Regions from separate parts of the Homo sapiens genome. Here region 1 is linked to region 2. Evidence: promoter capture Hi-C in human tissues and cell types (Jung and others, 2019). All regions are on one chromosome and are shown on one strand. The core of a region is centred on a gene start or on the middle of the fragment in contact, and the rest is flanking DNA. Distances in the headings are between cores, read along the strand shown.

Region 1 (7,400 bases), core at 2,489-4,988, 700 kb after region 2:
ATCAGTAGTAGACTGGATAAAGAAAATGTGGTACATATACACCATGGAATACTATGCAGCCATAAAAAAGAACAAGATCATGTCCTTTGCAGGAACATGAGTGGAGCTGGAGGCCATTTTCCCTAGTAAACTAATGCAAGAACAGAAAACCAAATACCACATGCTCTCATTTATAAGCAGGAGCTAAAAGATGAGAACACATGGATACACAGAAGGGAACAACAGACACTGGAGCCTACTGGACTGTGGAGGGGTGGGAGGAGGAAGAGGATCAGAAAAAATAACTAACAGGTACTAGGCCTAATACCTGGGTGATGAAATAATCTGTACAAAAATCTCCGTGACACAAATTTACCTGTATCACAAACCTACACATGTACCTCTGAATTTAAAAGTTAAAAAAAAAAATAGTGTTTCTATATGCTAATACTGTACTATTTGAAAAAGAAATAAAGAAAACAATCCAATTTACAATAGCTACAAAAGACACCTAGGAATAAATTCAACAAAGGAGGTAAAAAATCCCTATAATGAAAACTATTAAAATATTGATAAAAGAAATTGTGTAGACCCACACAAATATGGAAAGACATCCTGTGTTCATGAATTAGAAGAATAAATATTGTTAAAATTACCGTACTACCCCCCACAATCTGTAGATTCAATACAATCCTGCCAAAATACCAATGACATTCTTTACAGGTATAGAAAAAAATCCTAAAATTTGTGCGGAACCACAGAAGGCCCCAAATAGCCAAAAACAACCCACCTCCAAAAAAAAAAAACTGGAGGAATCACATTACTTAACTTTAAATTATACTACAAAGCTATAGTAACTAAAACAGTATGATACTTTCATAAAGACTGACAGATAAACCAATGGAACAGAATAGAGAACCCATAAATAAATCTGTGTACAATAAGTCCTCACTTAACATTGATAATTCATTCTTGGAAACTGTGACTGTAAGAAAAATGATGTGTAAGAAAATCATTTTTTTCTCATCAATGTTATAACAAAATGACATTGAATCAAACAACATTATCCAAGGACCTGCAGTATGTTGTTTCACTTAAAGTCACAGTTTTTGAGACCCCATTGACAACATTGTGAGGACTTACTGTATTTACAGCTAACTGATTTTTGATAAAGATGCCCAGAACATAAACTGGGAAGAAGACAAACCTCTTCAATAAGTAGCACTAGGAAAATTGATATTCCTATGCAGAAGAATGAAACTAAATTCATATCTCTAGCCATGTACAAAAATCAACTCAAAATGGGTTAAAGACTTAAATGTAAGTCTAAAACTATTAAACAACTAGAAGAATACATATGAGAAACACTTCAGGACATTATTCTGGGCAAAGATTTTATGAATAAGACCTCAGAAGCTTAGGCAACCAAAGCAAAAATACACAAATGGGATTACACCAAACTAAAAAGCTTCTGTATAGCAATGCAAAAGAAAGAAAAAAAATCAACAGAGTAAAGAGACACCTCACAAAAGGGAGAAAATATTTTCAAACTATTTATCTGACAAGCGATTAATACTGAGAATACACAAGGACCTCAAGCAACTCAACAAAAGTGAAAAAAAAAGAAATAATCTAGTCAAAAGATGTGCAGATGCTCTGAATAGACAGTTTTCAAAAGAAGACACAATGGCCGACAAATATATTAAAAAATGCTGAACATCACTGACCACCAAGAAAATGCAAATCAAAACCACAGTGAGATATCATGTCACCCTAGTAAGAAGGGCTATTATCAAAATGATAAAAAATAACAAATGCTGGCAATGATGCAAAGAAAAAGGAACTCTTATACAGTGTTGGTGGAGACATAAATTAGTACAACCGTTGTGGAAAACAGTATGGTGTTTCCTCAAAAAATCAAAAGTAGAACTATCATATGATTCAGCAATCCCACTACTGGATACAAATCCACAGAAAAGGAAATCAGTATGTCAAAGAAATATTTGTAGTCCTATGTTTATTGCAGCACTATTCACAATAACTAAGATATGTAATCAGCCTATTCTGTCAATGGATGAATAAAGAAAATGTGGTATATATACACAATGGAATACTTTTCAGCTATTAAAAAATGAAATCCTGTCATTTGTGGCAACATGAGTAAGCCTACAGGATGTTATGTTAAGTGAAATAAATCAGACACAGAAAGATAAATACCACATGTTCTCAGTCATATGTGGAACCTAATAAAATTTGATCACAGAAGTAGAAAGTAGAATACTAGATACCAGAGGTGGGAGAGGGTAGGGGGAGGAAAAGATGGAAATAGATTGGTTGTGTAGCACTGTAGGGTAACTACAGTTACAATAATTTATTGTATATGTTCAAATAGCTGGAAGAGAAGATTTCGAATGGTTTTTAACACAAAGAAATGATAAATGTTTGAGGTGATGGATGTGGTAATTACCCTGATTTCATCATTTCATATTGTATTGAAATATTACACCGTATCCCATAAATATTACATTTATGTAATATGTTAGATAAAAAAAAATCAGGTAAGAGAACTTCTCCTTCAATCGCTAGTCTGTGACTTTTCTTTTCCTTCCTAAGGTAATATCGTTAATAATATTGTCACATTGTCGCAATATCTACTTCGTTGTCTTATATAATCGTACATCACATGTAAGATCTATATATATGTAGGGCATATATTATTATGTATTTTATATAATAATTAAGCTTACAACTCCATTTAAGGGTAAGATTACTCTCTCTCATTCTTTAGGGGAAACTGCCTTGAGGCAGGAGTATTGGTTTTGCCCGTCTTTCTTTCTCATTTCCTTCTCTCCTGCCTGGCTGCTGTTTGCAGCTCTTCCAGGGGATGGGGGGCAGAAGTCCATAGGGAGCATCTCTGCCTTGTCTTGGCTTTATCTAGAACTGTTGTGTCTGGTTTTGTGCCCTCAGAGCCAGCAGAGTTTGAAGGAGGTCATGGACTCCCTCATGTGTTCTTTGAGGACCTCTGATCTCTGGTATGCAATCTCCTGATTTCAGTGAGTGGTTCTTCTGGCTGGACTCATTTACGTGAAGATCCTGGGAATCTTGAAGTCCACCTCCAGCTTCTGTTGAGATTACATCTCTTTTCCAGATGTGTTTTGGAAGGGACTTAAGACAGTCCACAAGGAAATGTGTTCTTTGTCCCAGCCTAACCAAGGGCAGCCGAGTCCAGGCTCTGCTCTGTTGCCTACACCTGGGTTCGCCTAGTTCTTTGTATCTGGAGTTTCCATTCAGGGCCAGGTGGGGATCACCCTGTCTCATAGCTGTAAGGATCACAGAAAATCTTCCTGCAAGGTCCAGCTGAAGCTGTTTTCTCTCGATTTAAGTTGCAGGAGGAAAATACCTTTTTTCTAATAAATCCTCTCAAAAAATCTTCCTCTTGGATTTATAAGACTTGTACTTTGGCAAGTTTGTGAACTGGTCTGGAATTTTATATATTTGTACCTTAGTTTCTCAGAAACGTCAAGTAACTATGTCATTGCATATTATATTGTCTGTGTGTGTGTGTGTGTGTGTGTGTAATCAAAATTGCAAGTGTCTAAATAAAACAAATTATCTTTTCATGTAATGCATTATTTAAAGCAGAAAATAACTAATGTAGAATGAATCCTATTGAGAAAATAATATCAACTTCTTATCTAGTTACTGTCTGATAAATACTTAAAAGACCACATTCTTCTTCTAGTTAGTAAATGAAAAATCACTGGTGAGGTCTCACAATAGAAACAGTATGAGATAAACCACTGTTAAAATTCCAGCTTACTTCAAATATTATAGCCAAAGCCAAAAGAAGAATGAGCTCTTGTTAACCTCAGTGCAGTTTTATCTTGAAGGTATTATATTTCATCCTTCTCATTTTTATTCACAAAAATGTCAAGAAAACATCTATAAAGTAGATGAAAATATAAAAATATGCTGCCTCCCCTATCTCCATAGATTTCTTCATGAATCCCATCTTATTCTCAATACAGCTTTTCATGTTAGAGTTAGGTTCATTCAAATGTTTGAGTAGCAGAAGCTGTTCTAACATCAGGTGAAATCCAGATCTCTTTATAAGAAATAATGGAGAAAAAAATGTTTTTAGAAAGACCAAAGAACCAGAAAAAAGGGCGTAGAATCAGCATGTCAAAAAGAGACCGTGAATAGTGATGAGAGATGAAAGACATGTCTAAAAAATATGTAATGAATAACTCCCTTTGACTGATAATGTAGATATTATTAGTGAAGGCAACATTCAAGGAAAGAGAAAAAGACGGTCCTGATTCACATGTTTAAGCTAATTGGAGTAAGTCCGTGAAGTGATTTCCAAAGGTCTGCTGCTGTGTGTACAAACCTGTAGGGTCTTTAAAGGAGCTGGAGCTCAGAGCTTTGTGCATGATGTTTGCGTTTTGTTTTGTTTTGATTTGTTTTGTTTCATTTCTTTTATTCATTTTGAGATGGTGAAGGCAGCATATTAGGCTGGAAAGAGTGACTTTCAAGAACTCTGGAGAGAAATCATACTATTATCATGAAAACTCTACTTGCCCCCTGCAAATCATCTGATAGGTGCCAAACAAAATAAAACAGGAGTATTCAGTAAAATTTACTCCTTATCACCATTTTTCCCTTTGCAAGGGCTACAGGAGAGCTTTCCTCCTGGCCCTCTGAAGGTTTGCTGAAAAATAAATTCACAAAAGGCAGATTAATAGAAGAAAAGGCATACAAATTTATTTAACATGTGTACCCAGGAGCCCTCAGAATGAAGACCCAAAGACACAGGGGAAATGGTCTATTTTTTGCTTTGGTTCAACCAAGTATGGACAGCCATGTAGAAATATGATTGGACAAAAAGTGTGTGATCTAATGCTAATAGTCTGCGTGGGGGAACCCAGCAAGGCGTGTCCATCTAGATTCCTCTTGGCTTCTCTGAGCAGCATTCCTTCCCTCTGGGTATGGGGCAGGAACCTTTCCAGAATGGGAGTCTTATAACCTATCATCAAACAAGGTAGGTCAGAGAATTTCTTTCTGGCCATTTTTACATGGATAGGGCTAAGGGAAGGTTAGATTAATATTGTTAGTTTTATAGCTGTCTTTGGAGAAAAGGAGTTCAGGTTTCTATGACCTGCCTTGGAGAAGAGTGTTTCTCATTTCTATGGCTAGCCTTGGGGAAGAATGGGATGGAGAGAAAGGAGGGCAGGAAGAGGTCAGAGAAAAACCTTTTGCTTCTGAAGGTATTGCAGAGGCCTTCATTTTGGGATATTGTTTTCTGAGCCCCAACACTCTGAATGGTAGACCTAAGAAGGACAAAAACAAGTTCTAGGTCAGAAAATACGTCCTTGCTATTGTATTTGTTGGAATCCAAAATATGCCTCTCCAAAATATACTTTTTTGGTATATTTCAAGTTGTTTATTCAGAGAAGCTGAATAGATTTGAAAAGCTATTGCTTTGTTAAAAGAAAAAATGTATGTTTATCTACATTAGTAAAGCAAACAGGAGATACAAACAGAGGCTTTCTCTGAGGTCACCTTATCCAGATCTAGGAAAGATGAACTCACAGAAAAAGGAGACTTAAGTCTGACATTTTGAAGTTCTGACAGAGAAACTGTTAACCACAAGCTGCCTTCTATTCACTCTGAGGACTGCTACCTGTGAGACTTCATCTGCATAACAAGACAGCCTTTGCTCTCCATGTGTTTCCTCCCCCCACCCTCCCACAACCCATCCCCAGGCTCCCCAGGAGCCCTAAGTCCTTATTCTACTCTGTATGGTATACAACTTAGTCATCTGGCCCTTCTTTGAGTCTCATATTTTGTGTAGTTACTCTACACATGCATATGTAATAAACTTGTATACCTTTTCTCCTGTTACTCTGTCTATTGTTGGTTGATTTTATGGAGTCAATTTATTAAACATTCAAATGGGTGGAAGGAAATTCCCTTTCCCCCTACGTATCCATGAAAGCTTTCCCAGAATGCATAGTTGTGTCCTGCCAGATTGGTGGTCAGAACAGGTTTGTATATCTTATGTGTGTTTTCCACAAGGAAGAGTGCCTTTTAAGTCCAAATAGCATTGCTCTGAAAATTAGGAAAACTGTTTGCTTTTTAAACACTCTACACAAAGCTTCCTGGGGCATTTCATCAGAGCAGCCTAGAACTTCTCATTTTAACCAGCTGAATACTTTCTTGCTTGGCAAAGCTTTTTGACACCTTTTGGGTTTAAATCCAGATTTTTTTTTTACACCTGTACTGTAAATAAGAGCACTTTTTTTGATGATTTAATAGCCAGTGGCTGACAATATATAGCCTAAGATAGCTATTATATTAAATAGACAGGTATATAACGTCTCTTCTCTTCATTCTTTGATACGATCTGTTTGTGATCTTTGCATTTTTTGTTTGTTTGTTTTGACCAGGATTCACTGGATACAAGACAGTTTTAATTCCAGAAAATATTTTTGTACTTCTCTTTAAATATGTGACTTGGAAGCAGGTTTTTGGGTATGAGCATATGTAGCTGTTGAAGATGACTATCAAAATTGATGCCACACAAAGCACCTTGTAAACAAAAGATGCTGGCACTTGGTAGGAAAATTAGGAAGGAAAATTAATAATACAGAAAATAATAGTCACATTTTCACTTATGCTTGCATAAGTTCTACCATTTAGGAGTTCTCAAAAAGAAATTAAAAAGAAGAGAAACAGGGTAAAAAAAACGTAATTTCTCCAGGGAATGTCTTTGGTCTGGCTTTCACATACACACAAACATTCTCATCTCAAAAGCAGTCATCAGAAAAATGATCTCCCTCTTGAATCCAAGTGAGATAAGTGCGGTATTAGTCCATTTTCATGCTGCTGATAAATACATTCCCAAGACTGGGTAATTTATGAGAAAAAAAGGTTTAATGGGCTCACAGCTCCATGTGGCTGGGGAGGCCTCACAATCATGGTAGAAGGTGAAAGCACGTCTTACATGGTGGCAGATAAAAGATAATGAGAACTAAGCTAAAGGGATTTCCTCTTATAAAGCCATCAGATCTGTGGTAGACTTATTCACTACCACAAGAACAGTATGGGGCAAACTGCCCCCATGATTCAATTATGTCCCACCAGGTCTTTTCCACAACATGTGGGAATTATGGGAGCTATAATTCAAAATGAGACTTGGTTGGGGACACAGCCAAACCATATCATTCTGCCACTGGCTGCTCCCAATTCTCACATCCTCACATTTCAAAACCAATCATGCCTTCCCAACAGTACCTCAGATTCTTAACTCATTTCAGCATTAACTCAAAAGTCTACAGTCGAGAGAAGCAAGTCCCTTCCACCTATAAGCCTACAAAATCAAAAGCAAGTTAGTTACTTCCTAGATACAATGGGGGTAC
Region 2 (6,843 bases), core at 1,722-4,221:
CATTTATTCCCATTTGGGCCTAAGTACTAAACTGACCACAGAAAAGACAGATGACAAAGATGATAGAAAACACAGGAAAGGGGAAGAAAGGAAAGTACGAGGAGTTAAAACGTTTTGAGAAGACAGAGCCTCAGGGAGCTTTGGGATTAAAATCAATAACAGTATTTGCTGAATACCCCCATGGGAGAAATCCATGGGGGAACTATATAAGGAATAGTGTAATGATAGCGACTATGTCTTGAGGGTCTATTGTGTGCTGCTTGTTTCGTGTGCATTTTTTTTTCCTTTTACTCCTAACAACAGTCTTTCGAGGCAGGAGTTATTAACCCAATTACACCACGTGTCTCTAGAAGGCAAGGCCTCAGTCTTCTTTGTGTACTAACATCTATGTACTCACTGAAGAAGACTTGTAAAACATACTCATAGTCCTGGACATAGGAGTTCATGGTTTTGCCAGAGCTGTGAAGGAACCTTGAGGATGTCAGCCCTAACGAGTGGGGTGAGTACAGGAAAAATGTGATGTGGCCAATGCAAGGAAGGACACTGTTTCTCTTACTACAATAAGAAAAACAACCCGACCAAATCAACCAACAAAACCAAGCAAGAGAAATCTGATGGTGAAGTGGCGAGGAAGCAGCAAAAGCTTCTTGCAGCTGGAGTTAGGGATGCGGATGAAAGGTGGATCAAGCCAACTGCAAGTGGGGGAGGCTGCTCAACCTGGGAAAGTGCTCCATCAGCTACTTCGCCCTCTCTTCCACTGCTGCAACGCTTTTTAAAGCGACAGTCACACGCTGCAGGATTCGGAAGCGGAAATGGTCTTTGCTCATTGGATGACAATCTAAATTCAGATCGAAAGAATGTGGTTGGAGACAGCTGGTGGAAATGGTCCCAGTCTTGTCTTCACTGGAAATGTCCAATGTCCACGTGCTGCTCGTTTCTCTTCTTATGAAGCGTCTCCCTGTCTCTCTGGGCCTGTCTCTGTTTCTTCCATCGCTTTTTTCCCCACTAAGTAACCATCCCGGCGCACTGTACCCAACTGGTCGAGGAACGCCCCTGCTGTACCCATCACTGCTGGCTGCCTCGGAGATTAATGCGAGCGACTCGGGTGGTTTATGAGAAGTGACACTTAATACCCAGCTTCTTGTATCTGCCGCCGAGCAGTTAACGTTAAAGCCCGCTCTGTACCACCGCGGATGTGACTGCTGTAAATACCACGGGGCAGGGCTCTCATGCTTCAGAAACACGTAAGCAAGACGCACCGAGCCAGCCCCGGACACCCAATGACCCTGGACTGCGGCAAAGGGGGGGTGGGAAAGGAAGAGGGGAGGACCACTCGCTCTTCTCTCCTTCCTCCTCGCCCGGGCCGGAGCACGCCTTCCTCCCCGGAGGGCAGGGGAAGGTCGCTCCAGGTCGCTGGCACCTCCAGCGCCCCCGAAATCTGCAAATTCATCGCTCCCTTTCGTCTTCAGGCGAAGCCCTCCCGTCCGGAGTAGGGCCAGCCCCAGTTATGCATCTCCAGCCTTTAGCTGACTACTAAGGCGGATCCGACTTCTCCCCCATAACCAGGTTTTGATTCGCTTCCCCACCGCAGGGGTTCAGTCTCTGCTTTCGACTTTGCTTCTCAGTTGCACGCCCCGCAGTGTGGAGCTGCGCTCAAGTCTCGGCAACTTTCACCATCTTGACCCGAGAGTCGGGCCGTTTCTAAGACAATGTGAACAAAGAGGAGCAGGGGGAGGGAAGGGGGGCCCCGCGGGAGGGCTGTGGGCGAGTGTGTGTGTGTGTGTGTGTGTGTGTGTGTGTGTGTGTGTGTTGGGGGGCGCCGCGCTCCGCGCCCGCCGCCACTGGGGATCCGGGCGCAGGCAGGCTGTCCCGGGCGCAGAGCGCGCCGCCTCCAGTCTCTCTGGCGGGCCCGGCCCGGCAGGGCCCCTGGCGGCCCCCGGAGGCGGGTTTCTTTGTCCCTGACTCCCGCTGGGCGCGAAGGCCGCCGGCGGCTAACAGAAACCCGAGCCCGCGCAACGGAGCTCAGGCTTCCACGTGCGGCCCCGCAGGGCAGAGCAGGAAGGAGCGGCTGCAGCCCCGGGGCGCCCCGCAAGCATCCAGTGCCCGGCCCTCCCAGCTCCGCGGCGGGCTTCGGACGGTGGAGTGAGACACCAGAACTCGCCTTTCGCTTCCCCGAGCCGATGCACGGCTTGGGATGGCGCCGCTCGTCCTAAGCAGCGTGGTTTGAGGGCGAGAAGACGCCTACTGGAGCGCTCCCCTCCACCCAGACTCCCGAAGACGCGCGCCCGAGTCGAAGTCGGGGACAGAGAAGGTTCTCTGGCGCCCCCCTGCCGACTGCTTTGCGGCCGCCGGGACCCGAGCAGCGGGGCGGGACCTAAACATAGCCCCAACCCAAAGATGCCCAGCAGAACGCTCCAAACAAAACAGAAACGGTGGCCGCATCTGCGTGTGTGTGTGTGTGTGTGTGTGTGACGGGGGAGAGGAGTTGATCTTACCTGAAACATAGTTTGCGCTTCTGTGTGTGTGGCCGAAGAATGGAAGAGAAACTGCCATGGCCATCCGAGTCCATTAAATCAACTCCCCTTCCCTCCGACTCTCTCAACTCAGTCATATTCTATAATACAACGCAAGGTTACAGAGCCCCAGTGAAAACTAGTTTCCCAGTTTCACTCTGACCCTCCATCAATGTAGCCAGCCAGCTAGATTGTAGGTTACCGGCTTCTATTCTGCAGGAGAACTTTGAGTCTCGGGAGACTCAGGGTTTCTTCCTCCCGCCTCTCGCAGTGCATCTTTCATTTGCTTTTCTTTGTAAAGCCAGGGCTCCTCGACTGCCTCCCAGGAAGTCCTGCGCTCTGGCGCGCCGCACCTCGCCTGCCGCAGAGCGGCGCGGGCAGTAAGCCGGGCGCTAGGACCGCGGGGAGCCCGGGCTGCGGCGGCGCTACCTTAAACCCAGCCCAATGCCGCTGCCTGCGCCACTCTGCGCGCCGGCGGGGGCTGCGCAGGAGGAGCGCTCCGCCCGGCTACAACGCTCCGCGAGCCGGCGCGGCAACACCTGTTCGCGGCAGCCTGGGCGGCACGCGAGCTCCCGGACGCGGCTCTCCTCGCTCGCCGCTCGCCACCCGTTCTAAGCCAATGGACATCTGCCGAGCCTCTGGAGAATCCTGGATACTAGCTTTGGACGCCTAAAGTTTCTTCTTCTTTTTGTTTTATTATTATTATCATTTTTTGGAGGGGGGACCGGGAGGGGAGATTTGTCGCCGCCACCAACGTGAGATTTTTTTTTCCCCTTGAAGGATTCATGCTGATGTCTGCAGAGTCGGTTAGAGAGTAAAAACAGCGCATGCCTTCCTGGAGTCAGGATCCGTAAATTCTGACGTAGCCCGTGCATCTTAAAAATCCCTATAATAACGCCTAGGCATTTAAGTTGCTATGGTCATTCTGATCTCAAACCAAATGGAGAAACTACGGATTTTTTTTCCTTATTACGGTCGGATGGGATGAAGACCTTCCTGCCTGCTAAGAGCTGGGGATCTATCTATAGAGATACATAGATATGTTTATCAATATGTCAGTGTGTGAGTATAAAGTGGTGGTTTCTTAGACTATCAGTGGTTTGACCTTGAACCTGTGCCAGTGAAACAGCAGATTACTTTTATTTATGCATTTAATGGATTGAAGAAAAGAACCTTTTTTTTCTCTCTCTCTCTGCAACTGCAGTAAGGGAGGGGAGTTGGATATACCTCGCCTAATATCTCCTGGGTTGACACCATCATTATTGTTTATTCTTGTGCTCCAAAAGCCGAGTCCTCTGATGGCTCCCTTAGGTGAAGTTGGGAACTATTTCGGTGTGCAGGATGCGGTACCGTTTGGGAATGTGCCCGTGTTGCCGGTGGACAGCCCGGTTTTGTTAAGTGACCACCTGGGTCAGTCCGAAGCAGGGGGGCTCCCCAGGGGACCCGCAGTCACGGACTTGGATCATTTAAAGGGGATTCTCAGGCGGAGGCAGCTATACTGCAGGACTGGATTTCACTTAGAAATCTTCCCCAATGGTACTATCCAGGGAACCAGGAAAGACCACAGCCGATTTGGTAGGTATACCATTAACCCTTTAGTGTCCATGAGATGACATGTTGAAATTATAACTACCAAGAAGGTGGTGGCCGGGTGGGGGACGTGGGAAGGGTTCTCCCCTCCTCCCCTCTTTCTCTGTATCTCTGTCTCTCTCTCTCTCTGTCTTGCCAGCTCCGAAAAAAAAATGCCTCCGGAATTGCAGATCTGCTGCTGGCACTGATGCAAGTATACACTGAAAGGCCCCCTACTTTTAATTTAAAGGGGGGCATAATTTATAAATATAATACAAGTTTCCAGTTCTTTTGCATCAGATACACGGGTTTAGGAAGTTTCTTTTGAATGGACTGATTGCACGAGTTTAAAGCTTTAATCATTAACTACTAAGAACTTAATGCAGTTTCTTGAAGGCAGTGGGTATCTTGTGCCCAAATTAAGGTTTTTTTCCTTTCCCCCTTTCCTCTAGTAAGTATACTACTTGAATTGTATATTAAGTGCATTGTTTATTCTCCCCTGTGAGGGTCTGAAAGCCCCATAGGCGAAGGTTGCTGACGGATTGTCCTGTTGGGAGGACTAAAGTCATATTTTAGGCTCCGTGAAAAGCAGGGGCAGAGGCTTGGGGGAAAATGACTTGGGAAGAGGCAGGGCGCTCAGGGGTTTTTGTCCTTCCAGCTATCAAGTGATAACCTCTGCTTTTAAATTTCCATAGTGTGCAGCCCTGTGTAGGTCTCCTGCGTGGCTCTCTGGTGTGAGTGTGTGCGCGCGTGCAAACGCTGCGAGCGAATTTTAAAGGGCATTCCGAGGATTTCATTTTTCAGCGGAGGGTATTTGTGACTCAGCACTGAGGGCTGCAGACTCGAGGGCTGGTGGCTCTGCCCACTTTATGCTTGCACACACGTGCTTGCCGGGGCACCCTGAGCCCAACGGCACGAAGTCAACTAACACAGTCCCAATTGGGTGGACTCTTGAGTTTTTTCCTTACTTAAAAAAAAAAAAATAAGCGCCAGTTTGGGCAACTAGACTGTTGGAAGGAGTTAACTTCTGAGTGAACCCACCTGACAACACTTAAACTAGGTCGTAAAAAACAAAGTCCTCTGGTGATTTTTCTTCCTCATGCTTTAGTGCCAGATGTTGAACACAATCTAAACTGTATGTTTAGCTTCGTGCGGCTGCGGATGATGCCAGAAGGTGAGGAGGACTTAGGCCTGGGCTGGGGATGGTCCCAGATCCACGAGGCCCAGGATTTGCTCCTCATGCTCACCCCTGAGCCTAAGCCCACAGCTGAGCCTAGTAGTGTGAAATTGCTCCGGCCGTCTCCACTCGCTGCTTAAAAAAAAGTTATAGCTCTTTGCTTTGCAATTATTCAGTTGAAATATAACTATCCCCTCCCCACCCCAGAAGTAAAGGTAGATTCTGGTTGTTGCAAAGAGAAGACTAAACTTTACTAAAAGTGCCGTTTCCATCTGGCCTCTTTAAGGGCTGCCACCCTGCCTAGCGTTCGATACCAGAACAACAGGCAGTGGGCGGCCCTGGGTGGGCGAGCGAGCGTGTCCGGGGCCGCGGCGGCCACCCGCAGGGTGTCGGGGCCGCGCCGACCGAAGCGAGCGGCGTGGGCGGCCGGCCTAGGTGTGCCAGGCGGCCGGAGCTCCAGCCCTCCCGCGCTCGCGGTCGGCAGGTGCCCGCTCGGCCGCCCGGGCCCCGCGGCGCACTTAGCGGCTGCCCGGCCGGCTCCGCGCGGTCCTAAACGCGCTCGCGTTCCGGCTCCCTTTCCGCCTGGCTCGGGTGCGCCCTTCAGTGCTGCGGGGACCACGGGGGCCGGGGGGCGGCAGGCAGGGGCTGACACACTTCTGGCCGCGTTTAGGGAATCCGGTTTTTCATTTTGGCCCAAGTTGAGCCCCTTCGCTTTCTCTTTGTGTGTGAGAGTGGGTCTGGCGGGGCTGACAGCCGCCGCCCTGGGCTGCACGGTGGTTTGCGGTGTGGGAACGGCTGGAGGCGCGCGCAGCGGCAGGAGAGTTGGTGGCGGGGACAGAGGACGGGCTGGAGGTCGGACCCCTGAGCTCCCCTGTCCCATTCCGTGTCCTTCTTCTGAAGCACGCAGCCGGGTTTTGGAGACTCGAAGGGCTCCGTGGTGCCCGGGAGGTGGGTCGGGGGCCCCTGGCCGGAGCCGCAGGGAAAGGAGTGGGGGTGGGGGGGACAAAGGGCCGCGGAGGCGGGCGGAGGGGGCGGCGTGCTATTGTTAACCGCTTTCCGAGAGCAGAGCTCGCGAGCTCGCCGATCGCGATCTGGCTTTCCCGCGCCCCCGCCTCCGCTCCGGCTTCACAACCGGGGGAGCCCGGGGTGTGCGCGGGAGCGCGGCGGGGGCGCACGGCTGCAGGGGCGCCGCGGCGGGCCCGAGCCGGTTTTATTGTGTGGATCAGCCGAGCCTGTCTTTGAGAGACCCTATTAGAACTCCGGTGCAGCACGACTGGGCCCTGGTGTGCAGAGATTATGGGATATTCTAGTTGGCGCTTCTTCACGCACCCCTTCCCTCCATGAGCATTTTTTTTTTTTGATGCAGTCACCTTTAGGATAGGACGTTTGCCACATGCAGTCGAGTCATTAGAAATCCCGTAACTCTGCCACTGGAGAGAGCGCGGATGCAAGGGCGGGGGCCACGCGGGAGGGGAGGGCAGGAGAGGCGCATTCTAGGGTGAGCGGATGAGGACAGCGGCGGGCTACAGTGGCTCAATAGAAACCGTTAAACAAAAAGCTAGACCCCTCACCCCTAGAGGTCAG

The links. The method cuts DNA at HindIII sites, captures the fragments that hold promoters and counts their contacts. A contact is called where the count stands out against the background at its distance.
Region 1: a contact is called between a fragment that was not itself captured here and the fragment with the promoter of FGF9 in region 2, in 3 of the 25 tissues and cell types used here (H1 embryonic stem cells, lymphoblastoid cells and mesendoderm cells).

Annotation. Positions count from the first base shown.
Region 1 is chr13:22,364,365-22,371,764 of GRCh38, forward strand. No RefSeq gene overlaps it. Among named protein-coding and RNA genes, the nearest start is that of LINC00540, 160 kb to the left of the region's middle. RefSeq lists an enhancer at 5,345-5,966. The HindIII fragment of the contact is 4,635 bases long and covers 1,422-6,056 here.
Region 2 is chr13:21,668,102-21,674,944 of GRCh38, forward strand. It overlaps FGF9 (fibroblast growth factor 9), which reads left to right and starts at 2,972. Exons shown (of 3, transcript NM_002010.3): 1 at 2,972-4,088. The coding sequence starts at 3,812. RefSeq lists silencers at 1,790-2,049, 2,830-2,879, 2,900-2,959, 5,566-5,785, 5,806-5,935. The HindIII fragment of the contact is 7,376 bases long and covers 1-6,074 here.